4 separate regions of the Homo sapiens genome follow, and all the other regions are linked to region 4. The links are contacts of gene promoters, found by promoter capture Hi-C in blood cells and fetal thymus (Javierre and others, 2016). All regions are on one chromosome and are shown on one strand. The core of a region is centred on a gene start or on the middle of the fragment in contact, and the rest is flanking DNA. Distances in the headings are between cores, read along the strand shown. Region 1 has its middle 31 kb from the start of SNX12. Region 2 has its middle 12 kb from the start of SNX12. Region 3 has its middle 68 kb from the start of SNX12. Region 4 holds the start of GCNA (germ cell nuclear acidic peptidase).

The links. Contacts are between HindIII fragments. The CHiCAGO score rates a contact against its expected background, and 5 or more counts as called.
Region 1: a contact is called between a fragment that was not itself captured here and the fragment with the promoter of GCNA in region 4, in 1 of 17 cell types (non-activated CD4 T cells). The highest score is 5.2, in non-activated CD4 T cells.
Region 2: a contact is called between a fragment that was not itself captured here and the fragment with the promoter of GCNA in region 4, in 1 of 17 cell types (non-activated CD4 T cells). The highest score is 5.6, in non-activated CD4 T cells.
Region 3: a contact is called between a fragment that was not itself captured here and the fragment with the promoter of GCNA in region 4, in 1 of 17 cell types (naive B cells). The highest score is 5.1, in naive B cells.

What each region holds. Positions count from the first base shown.
Region 1 is chrX:71,035,230-71,038,806 of GRCh38, reverse strand. No RefSeq gene overlaps it. Among named protein-coding and RNA genes, the nearest start is that of SNX12, 31 kb to the left of the region's middle. The HindIII fragment of the contact is 4,300 bases long and covers 1-3,577 here.
Region 2 is chrX:71,054,072-71,057,997 of GRCh38, reverse strand. No RefSeq gene overlaps it. Among named protein-coding and RNA genes, the nearest start is that of SNX12, 12 kb to the left of the region's middle. The HindIII fragment of the contact is 5,418 bases long and covers 1-3,926 here.
Region 3 is chrX:70,998,078-71,001,803 of GRCh38, reverse strand. No RefSeq gene overlaps it. Among named protein-coding and RNA genes, the nearest start is that of SNX12, 68 kb to the left of the region's middle. The HindIII fragment of the contact is 397 bases long and covers 1,650-2,046 here.
Region 4 is chrX:71,576,622-71,580,536 of GRCh38, reverse strand. It overlaps GCNA (germ cell nuclear acidic peptidase), which reads right to left and starts at 2,100. Exons shown (of 13, transcript NM_052957.5): 1 at 2,015-2,100. RefSeq lists an enhancer at 1,252-1,893. The HindIII fragment of the contact is 6,206 bases long and covers 1-3,915 here.

The DNA of each region.
Region 1 (3,577 bases), core at 287-2,786, 540 kb after region 4:
TTGTAGGATAGATTTGTGGATTTGAAACTGCTGAATCAAATGACACAAACATTAAAAAAATTGATAAATACTGCCAAATTTTTATCCAGAAAGTTTTTTCTAATGTACCTTCTTACCAAGCATACATGAATGCCTGTTTTCTTATACCTCACTGATACTGGAGAGTTATTAATCATTGTAATTTTTGTTTCCCAGAAGTCATCATCATTCCTACTCTTCATCACTGCTTCTAGACCTTTGCTTTCAACCCTCACATTAAAGGCCTCTCTTTTAAGGCTCATGCCTTTTGCAATATTACCTTTTATTCCTTCTCGATGTAGTCATTTATTGCCTTCTTGAATATTTCCTGATATTCTATGGAGACTTGAGCATCTGCTCTCTACCTCCCAGCCCATCACAATGCTCCTGTGGATGAACTGGCCAAGCAACACTCTACCTTCACAGCTCCTTGACCATTTCTAGTGCTCTTCTCCACTCTACTTCTGCAAGAAAATTTATTAGCCTCATTCTGGATTTTGTCATTTCCCAGAATTACTCTATATCTGAAAATATACAATTCCAATATCTCATTCTCTGTCCACAACTTTTTTTTTTTTTTTGACAGAGTCTCGCTCTGTCATCCAGGCTGGAGGGTAGTGGCACAATCTTGGCTCACTGCAACCTCCGCCTCCTGGGTTTAAGCGATTCTTCTGCCTTAGCCTCCCGTGTAGCTGGGACTACAGGTGTGTGCCACCATGCCCGGCTAATTTTTGTATTTTTAGTAGAGACGGGGTTTCACCATGTTGGCCAGGCTGGTCTCGAGCCCCTGACCTCAGGTGATCCCCCCCTATCAGCCTCCCAAAGTGCTGGGATTACAGGCCTGAGCCGCTGTGCCCGGCCCAAACTTTATTTTTGACATTTTTATTGTTTCACTACACATAGCACCAACTCATTTTATTTTATTTTATTTTATTTTACTTATTTTGAGATGGAGTCTTGCTCTGTAGCCCAGGCTGGAGTGCAGTAGCATGATCTCAGCTCACTGCAACCTCCGCCTCCCAGTTTCAAGCGATTCTTCCTCCTCAGTCTCCCAAGTAGCTGGGATTACAGGTGCCTGCCGCCACACCCAGCTAATTTTTTGTATTTTTAGTAGAGATGGGGTTTCACCATGTTGACCAGCCTGGTCTCGAACTCCCGACCTCAGGTGATCTGCCCGCTTCAGCCTCCCAAAGTGCTGGGATTACAGGTGTGAGCCACCTCGCCGGCCAACTCATTGATTTTAACAGGTGCATGGTGTTCCATTGTATACATGGACCATTATTTCATTTTGCCAGATTCACTGTACAGGCATTGTTCTAATGTTTGACTGTTGCAAATACTACTGCATTCTTTTTTGTGCATAGATTATATGTAAAACAATACTCTTTGTACATAAATCTTTGTGTGTCTCTGTGAGTATTACTGTGGGATAAATTTTTAGAAATGGATTGCTGTGTGAAATGATAAACATATTTACAATTTTAGTAGTATAGTCATATAGCCCTATAGAATCTACCAATTTACACTCCACTAACAGTATATAAAAATGTGTTTTCCCCATATACTTGCCAGAATTAGGTCGTTTTTCAATCTTTATCATTTATCAATCATTTTTTCATCCTTATCAACATGATAGGTGAAAAATATCTTGTTTAACTTATTTTTCTTTATTTCATGCTGTTTTTAATCCTTTTTTTCACTCAACAGTACGTTTTGGACATTTTTCTATGTCAATGAATATAGATTACACTATTGTTTTAAGTGGCTTTGTAAGGTGGGCACAGTGGTATGGTGCCTGTAGTCTCAGCTCTTTGGGAGGCTGAGGTGGAAAGATCGCTTGAGTCCAGGAGTTCAAGGCTGTAGTGCCCTATGGTCATGTCTGTGAATAGCCTGGACAACGTAGTGAGATCCCATTTCTTAAAAAATAAAAAAAGGCTGTATAGCATTTCATTGTGAGAATGTAATATTATTTTATTTTATTTATTTTCGAGACAGACTCTCATTACATCACCCAGGCTGGAATGCAGTGGCACGATCTCAGCTCACTGCAACCTCTGCTTCCCAGGTTCAAGCAATTCTTGTGCCTCAGCCTCCCAAGTAGTTGGGATTAAAGGGATGTGCCACCATGCTCAGCTAATTTTTGTATTTTTAGTAGAGATGGGATTTTGCCATGTTGGTCAGGCTGGTCTTGAACTCCTGGCTTCAAATGATCCACCTGCCTTGGCCTCCCAAAGTGCTGGGATTACAGGCATGAGCCACTGTACCTGGCCTTGCTCAGCATAATGTTTTTGAGATTTATCCATGTTATTGTGTGTATCAAGTTTGTTCCTTTTCAGTGCTGAGTAGCATTCTATTGTATGACTATGCTAGTTTATCCATTCTGTTCTTTTTTTTTTTTTTTTTTTTTTTTTTTTGAGACAGAGTCTTGCTGTGTCTTGCCCAGGCTGGAGTGCAGTGGCATGATCTCGGCTCACTGTAGCCTCCACCTCCCAGATTCAAACGATTCTCCTGTCTCAGCCTCCTGAGTAGCTGGGACTACAGGTATGTGCTACCACACCCAGCTAATTTTGTACTTTTTAGTAGAGATGGGGTTTCACCATGTTGGCCAGGCTGGTCTCAAACTCCTGACCTTAGGTCCTGCCTTGGCCTCCCAAAGTGCTGGGATTACAGGCATGAGCCGCCGTAACCAGCGTATCCATTCTATTATTGATGGACATTTGGATTATTTACAGTTTTTGGCTACTATGAATAAAGCTGAAGTAAACATTCTGGTACAAGTCTTTTTATAAACATATGCTTCCTTTTTTTTTTTTTTTTTGTAAATACCTAGAAGTGGAATTGCTAGACTATAGGATAGATGTGTATTTAAATTTATAAGAAACTTCTAAGTAATTCTCTAAACAGGTTGTACCATTTTTTATTCCCACTAGCAATATATGAGAATTCTAGTAGTTTTTCATTCTCTCGAACACTTGGTATGGTCAGTCTTTTAACATTTTAGCCATTCTGGTGGGTGTGTAGTAGTATCTCATTGTAGTTTTTTTTTTTTTTTTTTCCAAAGATAGGATCCCAGGCTGGAGTGCAGTAGTACAAATAGCTGGGACTACAGGCCATGCCACCACACCCAGCTAATTTTTGCTTTGTTTTTTGTAGAGGCAGGGCTTCACCATGTTGCCCAGGCTGGTCTGGAACTCTTGGGCTCAAGTGATCCACCTGCCTCGGCCTCCCAAAATGCTCAGATTACAGGTGTGAGCCACTGTGCCTGGCTCATTGTAGTTTTAATATGCATTTCCCTGAGTATTAATGATGTCAAGCACTTTTTCATGTGCTTATTGACCATTCAAATATCTTTGCTAAATATCTATTCAAATCTTTTGTCCATTTTAAAGTTGGATTAAATCCATTTTTAAATGATTGATTTGTAAGAGTTCTTTATATATTCTGCTTACAAGTCCTTTGTCAGATATATGTTTTTCAAGTATTTTCTCTTAGTCTGTGCTTGCCTATTCATTTTCTTAATAGTAGTTTTTCATGAGAAGATTTTAAAATTCAGTGAATT
Region 2 (3,926 bases), core at 495-2,994, 520 kb after region 4:
AAGAGTTCAGTTGAAGAGATGTTTAGCTGGGCGTGGTGGCTTATGCCTGTAATCCCAGCACTTTGGGAGGATTGCTTGAGCCCAGGAGTTGGAGACTAGCCTGGGCAACCGAGTGAGATCTCATCTCTACAAAAAAAAAAAAAAAAAAAAATTAAAAATCTGGCCAGGTATGGTGGCACATGATAGTCCCAGCTACTTGGGAGGCTGAAGCCGGAGGATTGCTTGAGCCCAGGAGGTTGTGGAGTGAGCCATGCAGTGAGCCATGATTGTACCACTGCACTCCAGCCTCAAAACAAAATGAAGAGATGTCTATACAAGGCAGGAAAATGCTAGAGACAGAGTAAGAGATTCAGGCACATCTGGTTAGTTGTCCAGTCTTTTTCTTTTTTAAAAATATCAGGCCAGGTAAATCTCCCTTGGATGTCAAATTGGCCATTTTGGCACATTAACTGGGCCAGGCAAGAATCCTAAATCCAAACCCTCTTACCCATTAACACTGAGGAGAAGCATACTTTTCTTTGATAAGGAATTCTAATTTACATGGGTATTTGCATGTTTACCACTAATTAATCCCCTTTATCTATAGTGCAGAAAGGGCTTAACCTTATGCTGGAACCTGGGGGACAGAGGCTAACGAAAAATTTTGAACATAGCTAGACCCAAAAGAAGTCTAAATCTTCACATTCCAAAGATGCCTTATCTACCCTTTGACCCATTCTTTGAGACAAGGAATTAAGCCAGTAAAGGTGGGAGAGGTGGATAACATTCAGGCTTCTCTGGAGTTGATAGTTATCCTACATGAGATACTTCTATGTTGAAGATATTCCTACTTCTATGTTGAAATATATGCTGTAATAATTTAAGTAAAATTACTTTCTTTTGTGGAAATGTAGAACAGCTGCTCACTGAAATGGATATTTCTTCATATCCTTGAAAACTGTTGAGTCACCCTTAGTATTCTCTTCTTAGATATAATAAGTTCTAATTTTTCCTTACTTGGCTCATTTTTAACCCTTTTATCTTTTTATTATTCTGAAATCTCTCCAAGGCCCTCACATGTCCTCAAGTTGTAGAGTCTTAAATTGGACAACACTTTAATTACAGCCTGAAGGTTAGGTAGTTGTTATTCCATTTATATATCTTAGTATTTGAGTTTACTTTTGAAATATAAAGTCTTAGTGACTAATTTAGCATGTGGTTCTCTGCCACTCCCTTCCTGACCACCCACCACCCCTCATTCTTATCTTCTTTTTTTACCTTGTTTGTACAAAAACCAGTTGTTGCCTATTTTATTTCTTCTGTCCATACCCTGTCTGTCTATGCATTTAAAAACAGAGAACTCATTCCTTATAAAACAGACAAACCAGGGATAATTGTCAACATCAAAAAAGAATTCTTTAAATCACTGCAGGCTTCCTTTAAATAGGTGTTTCCTGTGGTGGTTTTAAGTGTTTTTATATAGGTCATCAACTGCTTGATATAAAGAAACTAAAGATAAAGGGTTAAGAGGCAGTGCCAGTTGAAGAACAGTTAGAAATTGGGATAAAACAGTAGTTCTTAGGTAAACAGTAAAATACATTCAGATTCACAGAAAAAAAATATGTATATATATATTTTTTGAGATGGAGTCTCACAGTGTTGTCCAGGCTGGAGTGCAGTGGCGTGATCTCAGCTCACTGCAATCTCTGCCTCCCAGGTTCAAGCGATCCTCCTGCCTCAGCTTCCCGAGTAGCTGGGACTACAAGCGTGGCACCACCATACCCGGCTAATTTTTGTATTTTTAGTAGAGACGGGGTTTCACCACGTTGGCCAGGCTGGTTTCGAACTCCTGAGCTCAAGTGATCTGCCTGCCTCGGCCTCCCAAAGTGCTGGGATTACAGGCGTAAGCCACTGTACCTGGCCTGATTTATGTATTACTTTTCAAGAGAATGTTATACCAATAATATTTTTTGTCTAGATACAGTGAACTTTTCATCATCTGTACTAATGGAGGCATGTACATTTTAATTTTGTTAGGCATTTTTGTTGTAACATTTAAATATAGGGATGTCTAATCATAAAATTTAAAAATATTTCATAATTTCATCATACTGAAGACTCAGGAAGATCTGAAAAGAAACAGAAAGAGTACCAGACCTGGAATAGAAACCTGACTTCTAAAATTGGCTATATAGCTAGCTATAGGACCTTAGTTGAATTGCTTCACCATTTTAGGCCTGTTTTCTGAACTATACAATGAGGGATTTCGACTAAATGAGGGATTTTGACCAAATGATCTCTGAGGTATCTTAAATCTCTAGCTTTTTATGATTTCCCACCCTTGCCAAGGAGTTGAGTAAACATTGGAGGTGATGCCACCAAAAAAGTGAAAGCACAATTTTTCCTTTATATGATGGAGTTTGCTGTAGTGTAGTTTTCTCTTTCAGAAATGAACGATTATCCTGATTAGATTTTGTTTGCCCACATCCTGTTATATCAAGTCATGAGTATACCCCCATTGAAACTCAGAGTTGATTTGGTTTACAGTTGTTCTAATTGTATCCTAAGTCTTCTAGCTAAAATTTTAAAATGAAGTAGTCACCCCATGGCGTTATTTATTTATTTTTTGAGAGGGAATCTTGCTCTGTCGCTCAGGCCAGAGTGCAGTGGTGTGATCTTGGCTCACTGCAACCTGTGCCTCCCAGGTTCAAGCGATTCTCCTGCCTCAGCCTCCAGAGTAGCTGGGACTACAGGGGCATGCCACCACGCCCGGCTAATTTTTGTATTTTTAGTAGAAGCGGGGTTTCACCATATTGGCCAGGCTGGTCTCAAACTCCTGACCGTATGATCTGCCCACCTCGACCTCCCAAAGTGCTGGGATTGATTACAGGTGTGAGCCACTACGCCCAGCCCCCATGGAGCTATTTTTATTTAAAACACATACATTATAACTCTATTGATCTGATTACAAAAGTGCCTATTTTGTTAAAATGTTTTATTGTGATAAAAATTCAAAAATTATTAATGTTAGCCAACAAAATTCAAGCAAAACATAAATGTGTAAAGTAAAAAGTGAAAGATTTTTCCTTAGTCCCTCTCACCACTCCCATTCTCCAAGAATAACTTAATTTGGTGTGTGTCTTCCCAGATGTTGTTCTGTTTGTGTTTATATATTAATATACACATATATACATATATGAATACCCACACATTTGTATATAGGTTTTTTTTAAATGAAATGGGATATTATATGTACTGTTTTGCAACTTTTTTCACTTTGCATTGTATTCTGGACCTCCTCTTGCATTAATACATGGAAATTTACCTCATTTAAAAAATGACTGCATAACATTTCATGGTATGGTTGTATCACAATTTAATGATTCACCTATTGATGCAAATTTGTCTCCAATCATTCACTATTATAAATAATGCTACATATAACCTTGCTCCAGTGTGTAAGTATTTCTGTAGGATAGATTTTGAGAGAAGGAATTGCTGGGTCAAAAGGTGTGTGCCTTTTACTGTGTGTGTGTCTTTTACTGTGTGTGTGTGTGTGTGTGTGTGTGTGTGTGTGTGTGTGTAGAGATGGGGGAGGGGGGTGGTCTCACTTTGTTGCCCAAGTTGGTCTCGAACTCCTGGCTTCAAACGATTCTCCTGCCTCAGCCTCCCAAAGTGTTGGGATTACAGGCATGAGCCACTGCGCCTGGCCTCATTTTACGTTTTGATAGCTAAAGCTAAATTGCTTTCTTAAAGAATGCAGTTTAGGCTTCCAGTGACAGCAAATGAGAATGTTTCCCCACCCAAAGTGGGGAAATTCTGTTCACAAAAATTTCCTTGCCAAAAGTGGTAAAAATTTAAATAATTGATAATTATCCAAACTATTTGGTGAAAATCATATTTCATGGTTTTAATTTGCATTTTCTGGTACATTTAGTTGTAATGAT
Region 3 (3,726 bases), core at 599-3,098, 580 kb after region 4:
TGCTATGGGAACACAGAGAACAGAACAATCAACTATGTTTAATACACATTGCCTGTAGCATAGTGGTTAAAAGTTCAGGTTTTGAAGACCTATATTTAAATCCCACCATTTACTAGATGACAATGCTATTTAGCCCCTTTAAATCTCAGCTTTTTCATCTGTAAAATGATAATAGTAGTTATAGAATTGATTGAGGATTAAAATAAGCTAATGAACATAAATTGTTTAGCAAAACTCCTTGATAAATAATAGCTAGTTTGTCTTTCCCAAGAAGACACATACTAAAGGATGAGTAGGACATTGTCAGGTGAGGAAGAAAGAAAAGGACATTCTAAGAGGACAGGATACAATGTGTGAAGACATGGAGACATTATAGGGCCTGCTGTGTTTGTGGAATGGTGAGAAGCTTAGCATGCAGGAGTTTGGGGGTGGAGTAGAGCGTGAGGCTAACAACCTGGACTGAATCCTAACATGCTAGACCAAGGAGTTGTGTTTTATCCTGTAGGCACCGAGGAGTCAAAAGAGTGAGTTTTGTTTTGTAAAGATCATTTCGAAAGTAGTGTGGAAGTTGAACAGGTGTAGAATGGAGAGAGATTGGTGGCAGGACTACTTAGCAGACGTAATAGTCCAAGCTGGACATTATGAGAGTCTGAACCAAGATCGAGGCAGTATGGGGGAAAGGCTAGGCTTGACAGAATGATATTTATGAGTTAAAATCAACAGGACTGTATGCTGATTGATTAGATGTGCAGCGTTAGGGAGAAGGGATAATTAAGGCAAAAGCAAAAGCTTCTAGCTTAGGAACATGGCTTGCGATTGTGAATGAGAATGTAATTCAAGAATTTAGTAAATTGTGGCAGTAGAGAAGGTAAGTCTGATTTTAGACTAGTGGAGCTTAGGGTACCTCTTTGTAACCTGTAGGTAAAGATGCTTAATTGTAATTTGGAAATACAAATCTAGAGCTTAAGCAAGAGTTCGAGGCTATTATTAAAAATTTCCATGGATGAAATTGGAAATCATCATTCTCAGTAAACTATCGCAAGGACAAAAAACCAAACACTGCATGTTCTCACTCATAGATGGGAATTGAACAATGAGAACACATGGACACAGGAAGGGGAACATCACACTCTGGGGACTGTTGTGGGGTCGGGGGAGAGGGGAGGGATAGCATTAGGAGATATACCTAATGTTAAATGACGAGTTAATGGGTGCAGCACACCAGCATGGCACATGTATACATATGTAACTAACCTGCACATTGTGCACATGTACCCTAAAACTTAAAGTATATATATAAAAAAAAAAAAGAATAAAGCAACTTAGATTTAACTGTAAAAAAAATTTTGCAATCTGTCATTGTATAGATGATAGTTGAAGCTGTGTAAGTAGATAAACTTTGTTCCAGGTGGTGTAAGAAGATAAGAGACTAGGACATAACCCTAGGGAATCCCAATGAATAAGTGTTGAACAGAAGAGGGAAGTCTGAAAGGGAAAGGTAAGAAAAAAAAATGAAGAGACAGTAGTGTCATTTCTTCCCATTTCACTCCTTTCTTCCCAGAGGCCAAGAAGAACTTCTGGGAAATAAGAGCAACCAATCGCCTTAGGCTGTATAAATATGGGCCAATAAGTTCAGCAACTAGGAAGCTTTCCTTTAAAGTTTGTTGGAGTCACGGCAGAAGGCAGACTGCAGCAAATTGAACAAATGGACAGGGCGAAAGGACAGTGGTTGTAGATTAATTGTTCCAGAAATCTGGCTATGAAAGGAAGGAGGTAGAAAGGATGGTAGTTTGTAACGAGATAGGGGAGAAATAGTGTTTTAACTTTGTTTTAGAATGGGGAAACGTTAAGCCTGTCTGTAGGTATATAAGAAAATGTGGAAAATAGAAGAGAAAGGGGATATTTGATGGAATCAGAGTCTAGAGAGACAATCTTCCTTGTAGATTCTTTTGGTGACCACCACTTGTAAGTTGATTTAGGATGTTCAGAGTGTGGAACAAAGCCAGAGAAGAATCGAGAGGGAGTGAGACACAAAAGAACAAAGCTTGGAGTCCTGTTCATTACTTCCTTTTATGTTCTAGAGAATGCTTATCATAGAGAACAATCAGTCTTTCTCTGGGTCTCCATTTACCCTGTTACTTTGCCCTAGAAGATGTTATTCATTTCCCTGACTGAAACAGATGGTAGAAAATGCAACTCAGCTTACTTACTGTTAAAACAAACCATCTTTTTGGACTTTTATTATTTGGAATTTTCTTATAATAGTTATATTTATTTTAGAAATTTTAGATAATACAGATAAAAAATAAAAGAAAACTGGCAGCCCTACTCCCCAGGAATAATCAATATTAACATTTTGGTATATATTCTTTCAGTCTTTTTTCCCTTATCTGTAATAGGAGGAAAATATGCAAATAGCCAACCCCCATGGAACCACTTCCATAAGGCTTCTGTCAGATTCCAAATGTTCCCAAGGCTTCTATAGTACTTATGTAACAAGCCACACAGTGGATTGATTACTGTTAATGTATGTCCTCTGGGAGTTGCCAAGGAGGCTCACACTTTCAATTACTGTACATCCCAGATTTGAAAGCATATCCCTAACTATTTGTCTTAAGGATTTTAATTTTTTTCTTTCTTGCTACTGGATATAAGTGTCTAACAATTCTCACTGGGAATTGATTAGTGAGTAGGTATTGTCAGGTAACATGATTAATGCTGTAATAAGTATATAGGAAACTAAGAACTCAGAAAAAGAATTACTCATTGAAATTTTAATAATAACTGTCATTTAAGAGATGAGATTAACTATGTGGAGAAGTGGTTTACAACTGTGTTGCTAATGAAAACATAGGAAATAACCAAGTTAATCAAAGTGCAACTTTAGAACTGGGTGGTAACTTAAAAAAGCATTTCTGCCCTCCCTCAGCTGCAGGCATCTCGGCACAGAGACAGAGAGAGAGAGAGAGAGAGAGAGAGAAGAGAGAGAGAGAGAGAGACTCTGTTTGTTTGGGTAAAAGTAAGGGCAGAGAAAAAAAGTTTCTGTCTGGTAATCCAGAGAATTCTTTCGGATCTGATCCAAGACCACCAAGGCAGTACCTCAATGAGTCTGCAAGAGCCACAGTGTTACTGAGCTTGGGGTGCCCCCTAACGTAGATGTGACTACAGTGACCAAAAACTTAGATCACAACACCCAAAGTCCCTTCGAATACCTGGAAAGTTTCCCAAGAAGGACGGGTATGAACAAGCCCAGACTACAAAGACTACTAAACACCTAACATTTCAATACTTAGACACTGACGAACATGCACAAGCACGAAGACCATTTAGGAAAACATGATCTTCCCAAATGAACTAAATAAGGCACCAAGGACCAAGCCTGGAGAGACAGAGATATGTGATCTTTCGGACAGAGAATTTGAAATAGCTGTTTTGAAGAAACTCAAGAAAATTCAAGATAACACAGATAAGGAATTCAGAATCCTATCAGATAAATTTAACACAGAGATTTAAATAATTAAAAAGTATCAAGCAGAAATTCTGGTGTTAAAAAATGTAATTGACACACTGAAGAATGAATCAGAGTTTCTTAATTGCAGAATTGATCAAGCAGAAGAAAGAATTAATGAGCTTGAAGACAGGCCATTTGAAAATACATGGCCAGGCATAGTAGCTTATGTCTGTAATCCCAGCACTTCGGGAGGCTGAAGCAGGAGGATCACTTGA
Region 4 (3,915 bases), core at 851-3,350:
TGCCACTGCACTCCAGCCTGGGCCACAGAGCTAGACTCCATCTCAAAAAAGAAAAAGAAAAAGAAAATAAAATAAAAAGAAAAAAAAAAGAAAGCCAGAACTCAAAAGCAGAGACATCTCTACATTTACATTCTGCATTTATCTTTGGGTATCTTCCCCACCTTAAAGCCGAAACTTTGCTCTGCAAAATGAAAAGGATTTAAATTTGTTTTGTTGCAAACTTTTCCCACTCAGGCCTCTACCACCCCAATCTCTTCCCACCCTGCACCCGCCCCCACTTCCCACTCCCTCCACTCCCACCTCAACTTGCCAGTCTTCCACGTATCAGGGCTCGACCGCCCCCACATCCCACTGGCCCTCCACCTCCCTACAACCTTCAGTCCCCCTACTCCTGCCCCAAGGAAGTCTCCCACCTACCGGGTGTCAACCTCTCCCCCTTCCCCTACCTCTTTACTCCCCACTCTGTCAATCTTACCCAGAATAGGCTACCACCGCCCCCTCATCACCTTCTTCCTTCTGTCCAACCTCCACTGCCCCCTTACCTCCCGCCACTCTGGCTTCTCACTGGTCTTATATGAATCCGGCCACCCCCTCCACGCTTCCTATTCCTGCCTCCAGCCTCTAGCCAATCTTCGACCAAACAGGCCTTGACCCCTCCCCAACTCCTTCCTCCTATCAGGTCTGGACCCTACCCCCACCATTCTCACCTCAGTCTTCCACCAATCAGGCCTCAACCCCACCACCCTTCCCCCACACTCGCACCTCCAACCACCTCCAGCCACCTTCAACTGCTCCCAACCGGTTTTCCAAGCAGGCTTCCACTCCCCCACACTTCTATCCAACTTCTGCCCTACCCCACTCCTGTCTCCCACCACCACTCAGTCCTCAGCCAAAGAGACCTCAACCCCCACACACACACCCCTACCCACAACCACTAGCTCCCACCTCCCCCCAATGCTGCAACGGGCACCCCCACTTCTCCCCACAGCCACTGGCACCCCCACCTCCAATGCCACCACCAGCATCCTCACTTCTCCCCACGCCCACCAGCACCACCACGTGCTCCTAGGCCACTTCCACCACCACCAAGTGTTCCTACGCCGCCACCAGAACCCCCCACTTCCCTCAACGCCCCCATTGGCACCCCCACCTTCAATGCGGCCACCGGCGCCTCCACTTCTCCCCACACCGCCAGCGCTACTATGTGCTCCTATGCCACCAACGCCACCAAGTACTCCTAGGCCGCAACTGGCACCCCCACCTCCCCCCACGCTGCCACTGGCATCCCTACTTCTCCCCACCCGCCACTAGGGACACCACCTGTTCCTACACCACCACTGGGGCCCCCACCTCCCCCCAGTGCCGCAACCAGCGCCCTCACTTCTCCCCGCGCCGCCACCGGCGCCACGTATTCCTACATAGCCACTGGCGCCACCACACGCTCCTACGCCACCACCAGCGCTCCCACTTCCCCCAAGGCCGCCAATGGTGCCCCTACTTCTCCCCACACCGTCACTGGTGCTACCACATGCTCCTACACCACCACCAGCACCCCCACTTCCCCGACACTGCCACAGGCACCCCCACTTCCCCCAACGCCGCCACTGGTGCCCCTACTTCTCTCCACCCGCCACTGGCACCAACACCTCCTTCTACGCCACCACCAGGCCCCCCACTATCTGCAATGACGCCACCAGCGCCCCTTCTCCCCACGCCGCCACTGGCACTACCAGCTGCTCCTACGCCGCCACCGGCGCCCCCACCCCTCCCAATGCCGCCACTGGCGCCACCATATGTTTCCTACACCACCATGGGCGCCCCCACCTCCCCCAATGCTACCACTGGCGCCTCCACTTCTCCCCTCGCTGCCACTTCCTCTACTCCCACCTCAGGCCTACACGGGCAACCAGAGTCCAAGGTATACAGTGGTCCTGATTTTAATTAAGTCACTCAATTAGGATTAACCTCTGGACCACTTCAGCACCCATCTCAGTCCGACCAGCCGGTCACCTACCTGGTGTTGCAGCCTCTGGCGTGGCCGGCAGCAGCTCACCTCCAACTGCCCGTGGAGTGTGTGCAAAGATCCGGAGCAACTGCGATGAACAACGCCAGGCGCAGGCCCCTTTATAGTGCCCGGACCTAGGGGGCGGTAGCAGTAATTCACGTGTGCTCGCCCGCGCTCCCCTGTACCCACCTATCACAGTGGTCACAAGACAAATTTGAACTTCGCGCCTGTGAACTTGGCGCCTAGCTGTAACGCTTCCGGGATCAGGTCTGTCGCTTTCCACTCCCACGGATGTTGCTTATTTGTCCCAAAACCGCCATTTCAATACTAGAGCGTGGGCACCCGAGGCCAATTCTGCGATTAAAAGTCCCTAACAACTTTCTGATAAAGAGAAACCATGTGAAATCGTTCATAACAAACTTTTATCCTGCGAGAACTTGGATAAGCGAGCCTTGTTCCTTACTTGAATTGTCCAGACCTCTAAGTCCGTTATTGCAACCACTGGGAAAGGGCGCGGGGGGAGGGGCGGGGGCACGAGAACTGGAGCGAAGGCGCGGGAGCAGGGGCGTGGACGGGAACACCGAGGGGAGGGCGGGGCGCGGGGGGACGCGGGAGCGCAGGGGGGCGGGGGTTGCAGGGAAGGCCATCTAGACCCCTAGATAAGAGCAAGGCAGCAACTCAACAGCGCCTGGCAACGGCGAACTATGATGTTTACTTCCAGAACCCTCCAAACCCTGGAGATAAAAAAAGGTTACTTGAGGCTTTTTGGCACTCACTCCATACACACCAAGAAAAACAAACGGGGAAAACAGCGCTTTCTAGATTGTGCCAGTTTCTCCAGCGAGCATCTATATATTTCGTAATGTATGCCTTTGGGTAACAGAACACACATAAAATGTCCCTGCGTTTGATACTATTTTGTGCTAAGCATTATTCCAAGTGTCTTACGACTTAATTCATACAACACTTTAAAAAGTAGGCAACTGTTAGCACTCTCATTTTAGAGATCACACAGCTAGAAAGTGGCAGAGCTGGCCGGGCACAGTGGCTCACGCCTGTAACCCCAGCACTTTGGGAGGCTGAGGCGGGTGGATCACGAAGTCAGGAGCTTGAGACCAGCCTGGTCAACATGGTGAAACCCCGTCTCTACTAAAGATAAAAAAAAAAAAATAGCCGCGTGTGGTGGCCCGCGCCTGTAATCCCAGCTACTCGGGAGGCTGAGGCAGGAGAATCGCTGGAACCTGGGAGGCGGAGGTTGCAGTGAGCCGAGATCGTGCCATTGCACTCCAGCATGGGGACAGGGCGAGACTCCATCTCAAAAAAAAAAAAAAAAGTGGCAGAGCTGAGATTCAAACTCCAACTCTAGTTCCAAAACCTGCTCTTAAGCACCAGATTGCCTACCTAAATACAGATACTTTCTCAGTTGATAAAAAAATTGGATAAAGGGGGCTGATTACTCTCTCTCTCTACAATGAAGTTGCAAATTAACCTCTACAAGCCTCTTTATAAGAATGGGGATTACATAACTGTGCCTCAGAGGCTTGGGCAAAGAACCAGGATGTTAGCTATAATTGAGAGGCATATGCTTCAAGTAAAAGAATGGGATAGGTTTGGAATCAAATCTTAAAATGGGCAGTTCAGAAATTACACACATTTACTCAAGGTGTGCAAGCAACTCCTTTAGATTGAAGGCAGGAGGAGCTGAAGTAGACTGGAAATAATGTAGATTTTTCAAGAGAAGCGAATGGGAGTAAAAACTTTTGAGTAGGCTTTCTTCCCATAATAATCTTTTAGGAAACAAACACCAATCCACATGAGGGCTTTAAGAAGTTGGGAATTAAATCATGCAAAATTTTACTGAAAAAAATCTTCCCTCTCATATCTGAGAAAACTGGCAAACAGCATTTGCC